2 separate regions of the Homo sapiens genome follow, and region 1 is linked to region 2. Evidence: promoter capture Hi-C in human tissues and cell types (Jung and others, 2019). All regions are on one chromosome and are shown on one strand. Each heading gives the region's core, a stretch centred on a gene start or on the middle of the fragment in contact. The rest is flanking DNA. Distances are from core to core; before and after follow the strand shown.

Evidence for each region. The method cuts DNA at HindIII sites, captures the fragments that hold promoters and counts their contacts. A contact is called where the count stands out against the background at its distance.
Region 1: a fragment that was not itself captured here is called in contact with the fragment with the promoter of LIG4 in region 2 in 1 of the 25 tissues and cell types used here (dorsolateral prefrontal cortex).

The regions. Positions count from the first base shown.
Region 1 is chr13:106,500,952-106,507,284 of GRCh38, reverse strand. All of the region lies in intron 2 of EFNB2 (ephrin B2), which reads left to right. Among named protein-coding and RNA genes, the nearest start is that of EFNB2, 32 kb to the left of the region's middle. The HindIII fragment of the contact is 5,118 bases long and covers 2,417-6,333 here.
Region 2 is chr13:108,210,426-108,216,839 of GRCh38, reverse strand. It overlaps LIG4 (DNA ligase 4), which reads left to right and starts at 1,304. Exons shown (of 3, transcript NM_206937.2): 1 at 1,304-1,356; 2 at 2,230-2,302; 3 at 5,544-6,414. The coding sequence starts at 5,572. RefSeq lists a silencer at 1,102-1,241 and an enhancer at 1,085-1,379. The HindIII fragment of the contact is 8,794 bases long and covers 1-4,452 here.

The DNA.
Region 1 (6,333 bases), core at 3,726-6,225, 1.7 Mb after region 2:
TGTGGGCTGTATAAAGCGATTATGTGCTTTATTTGATGAATTATTTATGTACGATAAATGTAGCAAAAGCCACATTTCCATCATTAAATGTAATCCCATTTGGTGATACAGCAACATCAGCCTGTCATTTGGGTCCTCTGATTGAGGGGTGAGGATTTCTGTTTGATACCTTGTGCATAATGGCTGCGTTCAAGCATTTAAACTCATTTTTATTTCTAACCTACAGCTGTCATCTTTGTAATAGGATATTCATCAGAATCTTGCCAGAGACTGTGCATTTGGGATCTTGGGGGATACAGCACCACCACCACCCTCCCCCTGTCCAAGAGAAACAGATCAACATCTTAGGTTGAGAGTCTGGGGTCTGGAAGACCCGAGTTCCTGAGTGCCCTTTGACAAGTAACTTAACCCCTGTCTGCCTCAGTCTCTTCATCTGTAAAGTGGGGATAATGACAGCACCTGCTTCACAGGGTTGATGGGAATCCAGATGTGGTGGGATATAGAAAATGCTTATTACTTCCACCTTTGACACCAAATACATATAACTAAGAGTTAACTTTGGAGCAGGGGAGGAAGTGTGAGGCTCCAGGCTGGAGGCAGACCTGTGTTCGGCTGCAAGCTGGAGAGGATGGACCCCAAAAGCTTGGCTGATTTGAAGTCCATCCATAAAATGGAACTCCAGAGAGTTTACACGTTTCAGTAATGCTGCATAACTTAATTATAAGATCTTCTCTCTTTGTCTTCTTTCAGTGTTATAAAAGCTCTTTTGTCCTTGAGCTTCCTTTACCAAGAAACATGCATTTATGTATCTTTTTGTTCATGGAATTGCCCAAGCTTGTTAGCAGATCCTTTGTAAGACCCAAAAGAGACAGACAGGGGAGGAGTCTTCAGATACATATAATCATTTTTCCCAATTTCCATGTTACCAGCCTTGCCAGGACTTTTTCTCAGTTCCCTGTTACACAATGAAAATAGTGTCTCTTTATTGATAATTTTAGTAGCATCCTAATGTGGTATAAATCGTCTTCCAGAGAAGAAAATGTGTCAGGGTTGCGTTATCACTGAGGCTAGCTGGGAAAGTAGATCAGCCCATTAGTCTGATAATTCGAAGCGTTGTTTCTGTTATTTCTGAACATCATGTGAACTCCTTTTCTGGGTGTATTAAAGGTTTTCCCAGTGTGTGTCAGTGAGACTCCTGATTGAATTTAATATGAATAAAGATAAATTCTTTACATTTAAGGATTAAAGTCTCAGCTTCTGCTTAACTTGAGATTGCACTGAGAAACTCCTGGCTCTCGGGTATAGCGGAGTCACGACCTGGGGATGTCTGTCCCATATGGCTCTGTGTGTAAGAAGAAAAAGCTGCTGTGGACGGAGACTCTGTTCACATTAAATGACATCACCTAAGCCATCATGACAGCAAGAATTATTTAGGAATTGCTCAGAATAAAACTGCCTTCATTATTTCATAAAATGTATCTTGGTATCTTTAGCACCTTATTTATGGCTTTTTAAAGGTTCACTGGGATTTATAAATAATTGGACAATGCTAGAGACCTAGTACAAGAATGAAAGAGGACAGGCTTCTTTCTTAATAACCTTTAAACATTCATCAGGAAGATAAAACTTTAAAGCAAAATAAAACACATGAAAATAGCCAAGATGCACAGACCAGACAAGCAAATACTACTTTAACTTATTTGTATAGTTCTTAAGAGTCACATTTGTTCCTGAAGTTTCAAAATCTCGGGCTGAGTGTTTGATCACTTAGGGAAGTGTTGTGGCCTTCACATACTCTTGTCTCACTTTGAAGTCTAGAAACACAGGTCTTAGAGCAATTTTTATCACTGTGAGAAAGCTGAAACTTAGTGTGAGTAGCTTAGTACAATTCAGTTGGCCATCAAATGTCAGAAACAAAACTCAGTCCAGGGCCGCTGGACCCTTAGGCCGGCGTTGTTAGTTTACAACAGTGCCTCCTGGGTCCAAACATCTAAGTGCACATGTAGCAATAGTAAAGATAGTATGTATGCATACATAACACATATGTAGAGACAGCAGAGTATACGTACACACATGTTGCATACATAGCAACAGCAGAGAAGCTCATGAACTATAAAGGATGGACTGTATGCTTGTATCAGACATTTTGGTACTGACGCTTTGTCATATATTGTGTAACATATAACCAGCTTGCAATCATCTGCCCCCAAAGTTGAACTAAGAAAATCCTACAGGGTACTAGGAAAGGAAGGCCATTGGGAAAAGGTGGTTATAGTGGCAATTTGTTAGCTCTTATGAATTTTCTTTTTCTTTTTAGACATACTCTTAATTCCATTTTTTCAATAAATCTATACTATTTTGTGTTTTTATGTTAGCAAGTACTTTAAGCCCCTCAATAGAAAGTTGCTACATCATATAGTGATTAAAAATAAAAATCTCTCAAACATACAAGTAGAGGTGGTATGAGACTTCAAATTCCCTTAGCCAAGTACAAGTGCAGCAGTTTTGTTGGCTGGCTGGCTGCATAGAAGGACTGATGGATTGGCAGACCCTCAAGCTGGAGTGTAATTGATCTCATTACAGAGGAGCCAGGCTGGGTGACAGTTGTGCTTTGCAAGTGGTTTTTTGCATTGGTGAAGTAGCCCATTTTGTTGTTCCTGATGTTAAACAGGGGATGAAGGTATTCTTTTATTGGCACAAACGCGGGAAATTGCTCTGGATTCTTAGAGGATAGAACATGTCCCCTGGACGGAATAAGGTTCATGTGTAGGGCAAATTTAGATAGGGGCACCTTATTGGGGTTACTACTGGTCTCTAGATGGTCAAAGCAAACAACATGTCCATCTAAGCTGTGATGTCCATCTAAGCTGTGTGTGTCCATGAGAGTGACGCATTTTCTCCTCTGCAGTGTTGTTATATTCTAAACTGTCAGCAGACATTAATTCGGTCGCTGGTGAAGTCCCACCGCCTAGAGATGAACTCTGCCTCCGATGGATGTTTTCCACTTCAGTGCCACTCGTCTCGCAATTACTGGGTCATTAATATCATTGCATGCAATTAGTGACAGTAGAAAGAGCTAGAGGGTTGTGGGATGTGCACCCTCCCCACCATGAACTTTTTACTCTGACCCTTTCCCAGCTAGACCTTTTCGTATCTTGGCAAGGATATTTTAATGATTGAGACTGTCAGAATCTTCAGAGCAGGCACTGGATTATGTGCTGGAAATAATTCACTCAAACACCTGCTTCTCCATGGTTCAGAATATTTTCATTAGATATTATCACTATCCCTTCCCTGGGAAGTTTCATTTTTAAAAATCTGATGCTTAAGTACAGCTAATATAGACAATAGGGAATTATGTTTTATCTTTAGAACTCTTACATTATTCTTTTCTTTAAAAATGTGAGCTGAGTCATTGCTATTGCAGTGGTCATCTGGCCGCCTATTTTTAAAACACAATTCCTCTATCTTAGTAGATTTTGGCCCATATTAAGCATATCAAGAATGACTTTTTTTTTTTCAAGACATGGGGTTTTATTGGGGGCTTATATACAAGGAAAGAGAGAGTCCAGTGGCAGTGGGCTGGACAAGATATCCACATGGCCCTGTGGCAGTGAGCTGGGCAGGAAAACTGCAACTGCTTGCAAACAGCATGTAGTTCATCTATAGCATTTTCACTTAACACCACCCAGCTAATGACTTCCACCTGGCAACCTTCATTTAATCCAGAACTTAGGACCTCGAGTCCCTGTACGGCCCATGTTCCACAGGATGGGCCGAGGGCTCAGCTGTTCCTCATAGACAAGGAATGACTCTCCACATTGGCCACTCCCGGATTCCCTAGCTCAGGACACATATTCAGGTGTGTCTAAGGCTGGCTCTTCTATGTGAAGTTACTTATTCTTTTACCATTGACTCTCATGTTCCCACTATATTAAGTTTTTCTGAATTACTGTGGCAATAAGAAACGGTCCCTTAAATTATACTAGAAGAAAAGCTTTTTTTTTGTTTTGTTTTTTATTTTGAAATTATGTTAAATTTTTTTTCTTAACTGAGAGATTCCACCTGCATAAATCGTCATAACTTTTAACAGTAAGATCTTAGACTTAGAAAGTGATGTTTTTCCTCAACAGAATTTATTAAAAATCAAGACACCAAGCTGTTCCAAACAATAGTTTGAGGGGAAATAAAATAAACAACTCCATAAATAATCTTATGTTGTTAAACATGTCTCTAGCAAAACAAACAAACAAAAAAGTCGGGGGTTGGGGGAGGTGCAGTTTATTGCCAGTACTGTCTGGTCTTTCTCAGAAAAGCGTCAGTGTACATCACTGAGCCTGGACGGTATGTTTTCTTGATCTATACCCCCTATGTGTACATGTGCTTGCACGCACACACATGTAGACACGCACACATGTGCACCTGCCATCACTTTCTGCTCTTCCGTCTTTTCACTCTTGAGTGTCTGTAGCCAGTAGCTTTCCAGGTCTGTATAGTCAAAGATACCTATGGCCCTGAATGTCTTCACTGATTGCTATTTGACATTCATACGGTTTTTAATGGTTAAAAGGCTTTATGCGAAAGCTGTGATAGAATTTCTCCTGTTCTAGATGTGGTGTTTATTGCTTTATTTTGTGACTTTTCTCTCAGTAGATTGACCTTCTCCCTCAGTGTCCAAGCCTCGCATAGCATGATGGCACCTGTAAACTCAGTTCTGTATCCTGGTATCCTTTCTCTTCCCAAGTAGAAGCAATTAAGTAATATATGTCATCAAAACCTTTTAAGTGCACATACAAACAAAATCAACTTACCAAACTGCTTCAAAGTTGTTCCATGTTTAACACTCTTCTTTCTGAGCTCTGGGTAGAATGTCCTATTATTGTTCATCATGAATATTTGAAATTAAAGAAATAAAACTGTACCATTTTCTTTAAGAGCATCCATTTGTACTTGATAACATCTTCAGTCATATTTCAATGCTGGCAAAGAGGAGGGGAGTTCTAAACTGTGACTCAATTTTAGAATCTACTTTTTCCAAATTATTCTGTTTAGTGCAGAAAACTAATTAATAGTGTTGCATAGAAAAGTCACTGAAGCTAAGCCAGTTATTACTTCTTAATGCATGATTTACTGCTTTAAGTTTTCAAAACACAACCATAGCAATGTGGTATTAATTCAAGTGATTCTTCCTATCATATTGAACGATATTTTCACGGGTGAAAAACTCACACATCCTACATCACTGATAGTTTATACAGTGTTTTAGCTGTGGCTCCCTGCATGCAAAATAAGAGTTAATCAAATGTCAGTGAGAACCATCTCATCAAGTAGAGGGCTTGTTTTGTTTAAATTAACTTTGCTAAGTATAAATTTCTTCTTGAAAATAAATTCTGGGCCGGGCGCGGTGGCTCACGCCTGTAATCCTAGCACTTTGGGAGGCCGAGGCGGGCGGATCACGAGGTCAGGAGATCGAGACCAAACTGGCTAACACTGTGAAACCCCGTCTCTACTAAAAATACAAAAAATGAGCCGGGTGTGGTGGCGGGCTCCTGTAGTCCCAGCTACTCGGGAGGCTGAGGCAGGAGAATGGCGTGAACCTGGGAGGCAGAGCTTGTGGTGAGCCAAGATCACACCACTGCACTCCAGCCTGGGTGACAGAGCGAGACTCCGTCTCAAAAAAAAAAAAAAGGAAAATAAATTCTTCTGTATTTTTCTTTCTTCAAGTGAGGCCATTTAGGGGAAAGTATACCATAAAACTTGCTCTAAGATAAGGCAAATTTGGTATTATAGGATGAAGTGCTATGTGATTTGAAGTAATGCTGAATTTTTTAAATATATTAAACTAAACAAGAATAATGAGGCCCTCGGAAAGTCATGATTATATTTCTCATTTTTCTCATTTTAAAGCCACAGTGAAAAACACATAAAAGGAAGAAGTTAGAAAAAAAAATGAATGAAATTCTTTTTTTCCTTTTGGCAAATTAAATAGATGTTTCTGTTTCAGAAGATTTTATTAATTAACTTTAAAGAAACAGTCATTTATTTTTGGCATTCAGTGAACACTATCATTTCCATGTTTAGAACTTTTCTTCTAAGTTAGCATCTTAAAAGATAACTGTGAAACTCAAGGCATTCAACTACATTAATTTGAGTTTCAGAAATTGAATTCTTGTTTCTAGAGTACATAGTTTGAATTGATGTCAGGGTGTTAAATAGATAAATCTTAGCTTCCTAGGTTGTATATTCACACTAATTATTTTTTTATCAGCCTTCTTATTTTTCAACTTACCTTATTCTTTTTGTTTTTTTGACACTCAGATTTGATAGCCCTGT
Region 2 (6,414 bases), core at 55-2,554:
GGAGTTTGCCTGGTTTCATAATTCATGGTTCTTCTCATGTAACTAATACAAAGTCCAGCTTCTGACATTGTAGGAGCTCAGTAGAGGTTGAACAAGCTACAAATGTACACGGATAGGTACCCTCTCCTAAGATGGGCAAGTGGAGGCTCCTCTACCTTAACACTATTCATTTTTCCTCCAAAATAAATTGATAACTAAATTGAAGAGCAGATACTCACAAAACAATATCATGAGACTTTACAACATCACAGATGATTTTAGATATTCAGGCATATTAGGTCAATTAGACATACGAAGTAAATAACTGAATGTTCTTGGGCTAGACGGAACCTCCGCTACAAACTAGCACTGAATGAAATGTGTCAGTTTTGAAAAAGGAGGTTTTTATACATTACACAACCTCTAAGGGCACTTAACAGCTCTAATATGTTTTATCAGGGCCCACTGCAGCAAAATTTATTTTATTGTAAAGCAATATTTTATGCTAAAATAAAATAGTTCTAAAAGTTGTTTCCACCCCTCTTTATGAATAACTTCTCACTTCTCCATGGCGAAAGAGGACTGACCACAGCAAAAATTCGGTGGAAACCAACAGCTCCTGGAACACAAAAACTGGGGTTGTTTATAATCTCTCCACCCTGAATATCTAGCACCATTACTATATAATAATAGGTGCTCAATAAAGGTTTGTTAAATAACTTTATTTTTAAACCTTAAACAGATACTAGAAGAGTCCATAGTTGATTTCTGGTCATGCAACGGTTTATTTCTATATTGTAAGTTATGTATTGTTATGTATTATTTCTGTATTAAGAGAACTGAGACCACAGTAGCAAACATCATTTAAAAAAAAAAACAGCTCTATATAGTTTGCAAAAGCCTATTTTTTAAAAGTTTAAATGAAACAACCAACGTTTTGAGTTGGGAGGATGTCCTGTTCTCTCTTGGGAGTTTTCACAACCAGCGAAATCAGTATAGTTACCACTGTTTTACGTACAGAGAACAAGAATTAGAGGCTATCACTAGCCAGAGCACAAAGTGATCTTAGGTCTCCCTCGAGACAAAATCCACTGGCGTGTGGATCAACTGCTTGCAGAGAGCATCTGCTGCCGAGGCCAATAGGAGCCGTGTGTACTCAAGACCCTAACCAGGATCCTGCAGGTCCCGCCTCCGCAGCCCCACGGGGCTGCCGGCCCCCCCACCTCCCATCGCGAGCCTGGCTGCGCCGGCGTGCTTGAGCCCGGTGACTGCAAGGCCCCGGGTCTCCCCTGCGCCTGCGCGGCGAGCAGCTGGCGGAACCGGCATCTTCTGGCGCCAGCTTCCGGCTTAGCGGCTGAGCTTCAGGCTTGACGTCAGGTGGGAAGGGTGTGGGGTGGCAGGTGGGGGCGGTTGGGAGGTTGGGGGGGGTTGGGGTGGGGGGGGTGGGGGGTGGCAGATTGACGGTGTGGGGGGAGTCAAGTGGAAGGTGTGGTCCAGCAGGCGGCGAGAAGTCTGTGGGGCAACAGACCGGGGGAAGGTCTGTGGGGCGTCAGGCGGGGTATCTGTGGGACGTCAGGTTGGGGTCTGTAGGGCGTCACGTTGGGGGTCTGTGGGGCGTCAGAGGGGGGAATCTGTGGGGCGGCAGGTGGGGGGTGTTCGGGGCGGGGTTTGGGGTGTGTGTGGCGGCAGGAGGCGGGGGAGGTCTGTGGGGCGTCAGGTTAGGGTCTGTGAGGTGTCAGGCGGGGTTTACGTGGGGTGGCAGGTGTGGGGTGTGTGGAGAGTCAAGTGGGGGGTGTGGGGCGTCAGATTGGGGGTCTGGGGGATCAGATGGGTGGTGTCTGGGACGTCAGGCGGGGGTCGGGGGGTCGTCAGGCGGGGGATGTGTGGGGAGTCAAGTAGGGGAAGTGGGGCGTCAGATTGGGGGTCTGGGGGATCCGGTCGTGGGGGTGTCTGGGACGTCAGGCGGGGGGCCTGAGGGGCGTCAGGTGGGGGGGTCTGGGAGGCGTCAGGCGGGGGTCGGTCTATGGGGGCAGCAAGCAGGGTGTTTGTGCAGCGGCAGGTGATGGGAGTTGCCGAGTCCACAGCGCTGTAGACTGCGCCGCATTAGAAGCCTGGCCTCCTGATGCTGTGCTCTTCATCTAGACCCAAGCCCCAGGTCGTGGGACGATTTCTCCCGTTTTTGACTCCCTGGAACTGTATTGCCTGCTTTACCTGCGTACATGTTGATTCTTTCTCATGGCAACCCCGCAGGAAACCATCAAGATCTCATTTTACAGCTGGGATTCTCTGGTTCACAGAGGTAACGGAGCTTGCCCGAGGCCAGGTATTCACTGGGAATCCGTGAAGGGTTGGGGGAGAGTAGGGGGAACGGGCAGAGGAATGATGTAGACTCCTTAGGGATTTTCCATTTTCCGAGAGGGTACAGGGGGCATTGGAGCGGGAGAGACTTTAGGCTTGGAGGGAATTACTTTATTTCTCTTCTTACACTTGGTCTTTCATTAACTTTTGGGATCCCAAAGCCCTTCTAGCGTCTTTGTCTGCTCATTTCTTTTTGCTGAGATTGTCCCAAATTGTCACTAAGTGCTGTGGAAGATAGGCAGCTGTAAACCCTTTGTTTCCTAGGGAAACACAGCTTGTCAAGGGTTGCATGAAGGATACTTCAGTTGCATTCGTCACTTACTCCTTTTTTTCCTCTCTCTTTTTTAAGTGCAATAGCATAGCACTTAATCACCTTCCATAGTCACTGAATAAAACCTGCCGGTTTATTTTCATGTGTCACTTCAGGACAATTTAGTCAGAACTGAATGAATGATGAATCGTTATTGTGTACTAATTGCTTGCATTCATTCTCCTGAAAGCTTTGCTTATTGTTAAAGAGTGAAGCTTCTTCCCACCTTTTTATCTCGTTAATATTTTGCAATATTTATATTTTAAATGTTGCTTGGATCAGCAAGCATTATAGTATTAAAATTATCAAGACTTACTACTTTTTAAAGCACATTTTGTAGATTATCTGATTTTTATCTTCATTCTAATTTCTACATAGTTTTTAACCCCATTTTATACTTTAGGAAACTGAAGCTTAGAGAAATTAAGTAATTGCCCAGTATCACACAGCTGTTAAATGTTACCATCCACATTTGAACTCAGATTTATTAGAGTCTAAAACCTGAGCCCTAACCAGGAACCTCCTCATTTGTCTTACTGCAAATGGAATGAATCAGCTAAAATCCTCAGAATCCAAAAAATAAAATTAGCATGTAAAAATGAATGGAAGTCCTAATCTTTGACTTTTTATGCCGTTGTAATGAGCAAAAATACTTACGACTAGTTTATGGCAATTTTGGAATCCTTGTTATAGGCGTAGCCATTTTAGGATACATGTGTATCCACACCATTACCTACATTTTGTCATTATAAAGTAATTTAAGTCCTTGCCTGGGATTTGTTGAGCGAAACTTTAACTTTGAGACCATGTAGAATCTATAGATATATCTGTAGAAACTATATACCAATATTTGAATATTAAAGAAATATTAGTTAACCTACTTTATTTTACATAGTTTATATAGAAATTGTAGATATAGCATTGTGTACCCTGTTTACTCCCTTGAGGGAGCAAATTTTGGGAGATAGGGCAGTGAACATACATAACCAGGTGTTACAGTCAGTTATGCAAACCAGATTCAGAGAGAGGAAACAACAGTATATTCAAAGATAAAAGTTTCAGGAAAGTGGTCTGTCATGCGTTTATCCCTCGATCTAACCCACTCAGTAGAAGCTGGGTTTCCTTTGTCAGAAATTAGACTGAGAAGTGCACCTTTTTTCTCTATAGGCCACCAAATGGCTGTTGTAAACCATTGCCAGGGCAGTCAGAGCTACTGAATATTTTTAACCAAACTGAATCTCACCCACTGTGTGTCTGCGTGCGTGTGTGAGTGTGTGGTATGTAACCAGACCATAGCTTTCCCTAGTGTGCTTATCCAGGAGTCAACTCTAGGTGTTCAGTAATTCATTCAGCAAACCTCCTACATGTCTGCCACTAGAGCACAAATTACAGCACAATTCCTGGCCTCTAGATACTGACAGTATAGTAAATGTAGTATTGTAATTAGCCATTTGATTTATTTTACTGGATACTAGATAATGTAGCCTTGTGCATGTGTGTGTTGCTCATTTGTTTGCGAATTGGAAGATGGGGAGTCACATATTTTCTGCACTGTAATAGATCTCCCCACTCCCAGCAAAACTTCTCCAACTCCACTGCCTGGGATACATGGTGGTGTGCCAGGAGGGGTCTGAAACCACAGGATAAAACATAGTTTCTATTCATGGACCATACATTTTACTTGAAATCTTTTTTTGGAAAAGTTATTTAACATTACATAGTTTAAACCATATTAAAATTACTCTAATATATTTATCTTCCAGTAGAACTTGTATGAATATTTAAAACTAAAGAAATTTACACTTGTGAAATTTTAGGAAATATTCTTGCCCTAGCTTAGCAAGGTACCCATTATTTCTTCTCTGACTTTAGCAGATACTTTAGGGAAAAGCTCTCCCCTCAGGACATTTTACGTTTGTTTTATTTTGTTAAAGCACTTGGCATTTTATTATACTCAGTTTCCACTACACTCCCCCCCTTTTTTTCTTTTCTTTTTTTTCTTTTTTTTTTTTTACAGAATATATTTTCTTTTAAAGCAGAAACATGCAGTATTTTCCCCTAGCACAGTGTATGTAGCACATCTCATATGTAGTCATTAAATACTCAGGGAATAACTGGCATGGAAATATGAAAAAAGCAGCATACTAATAAATTTATACTTATAAGACAGTAAGTAACTATGGTAAAATAGATAAAGTGAGGATTTTATGGGTAGGGCATTTTGAGTTGGAATCGAATGCTGGTGTGATTTGGCATAGCTAGCAGTGAAGAAGTGAAAGGAAACATAGACGTAGGCTTTGTTTGGCTGGAAGAAGAGGGTACCTGTTTTTTCCTTTGTTTTGTTTTTTGGTCAAGGGCCCTGCCTATGATTAGGATTTCTAGGAAGTCAAATTTCAGTTCAGCAAATGAGTGATTTGTTAAAAATATCTGTTCGAAGATCAAGTTCATTTCTGGTGCTATGTGGTAGTCTGACAGGGAAAGAAGAGACATACATGAAAGGCCTTCCCTCAGAAGCTCAGAAGTGAAGTGAATTAAGCCTGATGAGTTTTTTTGTCACCATTATTAGCAATATTTGTTTGTATTATGTGCTAAATAATTAATACATAGAATAACTGGAATTTAAAGAGAAAATTAAAATGATTTCTGTATTATAAATACAGGAAATACAGCTATATAGCTGATGATACTTTTCATAATAACTTCAAATTAGGGTTGGAGCAAAACAGTTATTAAATGTAGAGGTTGAAAAGATACATCATTTAGAGCATTGATCTTTTTTTTAGTAAACATTAATAAACATTTATTATGATCTCAGTGATCTTTGTAAGATCTTTACATTAAATATTTAGTTGAATCTTATCTTTTACTTAAAGTTATTCTCTTTTTGCTTTACTAGTTAAACGAGAAGATTCATCACCGCTTTGATGGCTGCCTCACAAACTTCACAAACTGTTGCATCTCACGTTCCTTTTGCAGATTTGTGTTCAACTTTAGAACGAATACAGAAAAGTAAAGGACGTGCAGAAAAAATCAGACACTTCAGGGAATTTTTAGATTCTTGGAGAAAATTTCATGATGCTCTTCATAAGAACCACAAAGATGTCACAGACTCTTTTTATCCAGCAATGAGACTAATTCTTCCTCAGCTAGAAAGAGAGAGAATGGCCTATGGAATTAAAGAAACTATGCTTGCTAAGCTTTATATTGAGTTGCTTAATTTACCTAGAGATGGAAAAGATGCCCTCAAACTTTTAAACTACAGAACACCCACTGGAACTCATGGAGATGCTGGAGACTTTGCAATGATTGCATATTTTGTGTTGAAGCCAAGATGTTTACAGAAAGGAAGTTTAACCATACAGCAAGTAAACGACCTTTTAGACTCAATTGCCAGCAATAATTCTGCTAAAAGAAAAGACCTAATAAAAAAGAGCCTTCTTCAACTTATAACTCAGAGTTCAGCACTTGAGCAAAAGTGGCTTATACGGATGATCATAAAGGATTTAAAGCTTGGTGTTAGTCAGCAAACTATCTTTTCTGTTTTTCATAATGATGCTGCTGAGTTGCATAATGTCACTACAGATCTGGAAAAAGTCTGTAGGCAACTGCATGATCCTTCTGTAGGACTCAGTGATATTTCTATCACTTTATTTTCTGCATTTAAACCAATGCTAGCTGCTATTGCAGATATTGAGCACATTGAGAAGGATATGAAACATCAGAGTTTCTACATAGAAACCAAGCTAGATGGTGAACGTATGCAAATG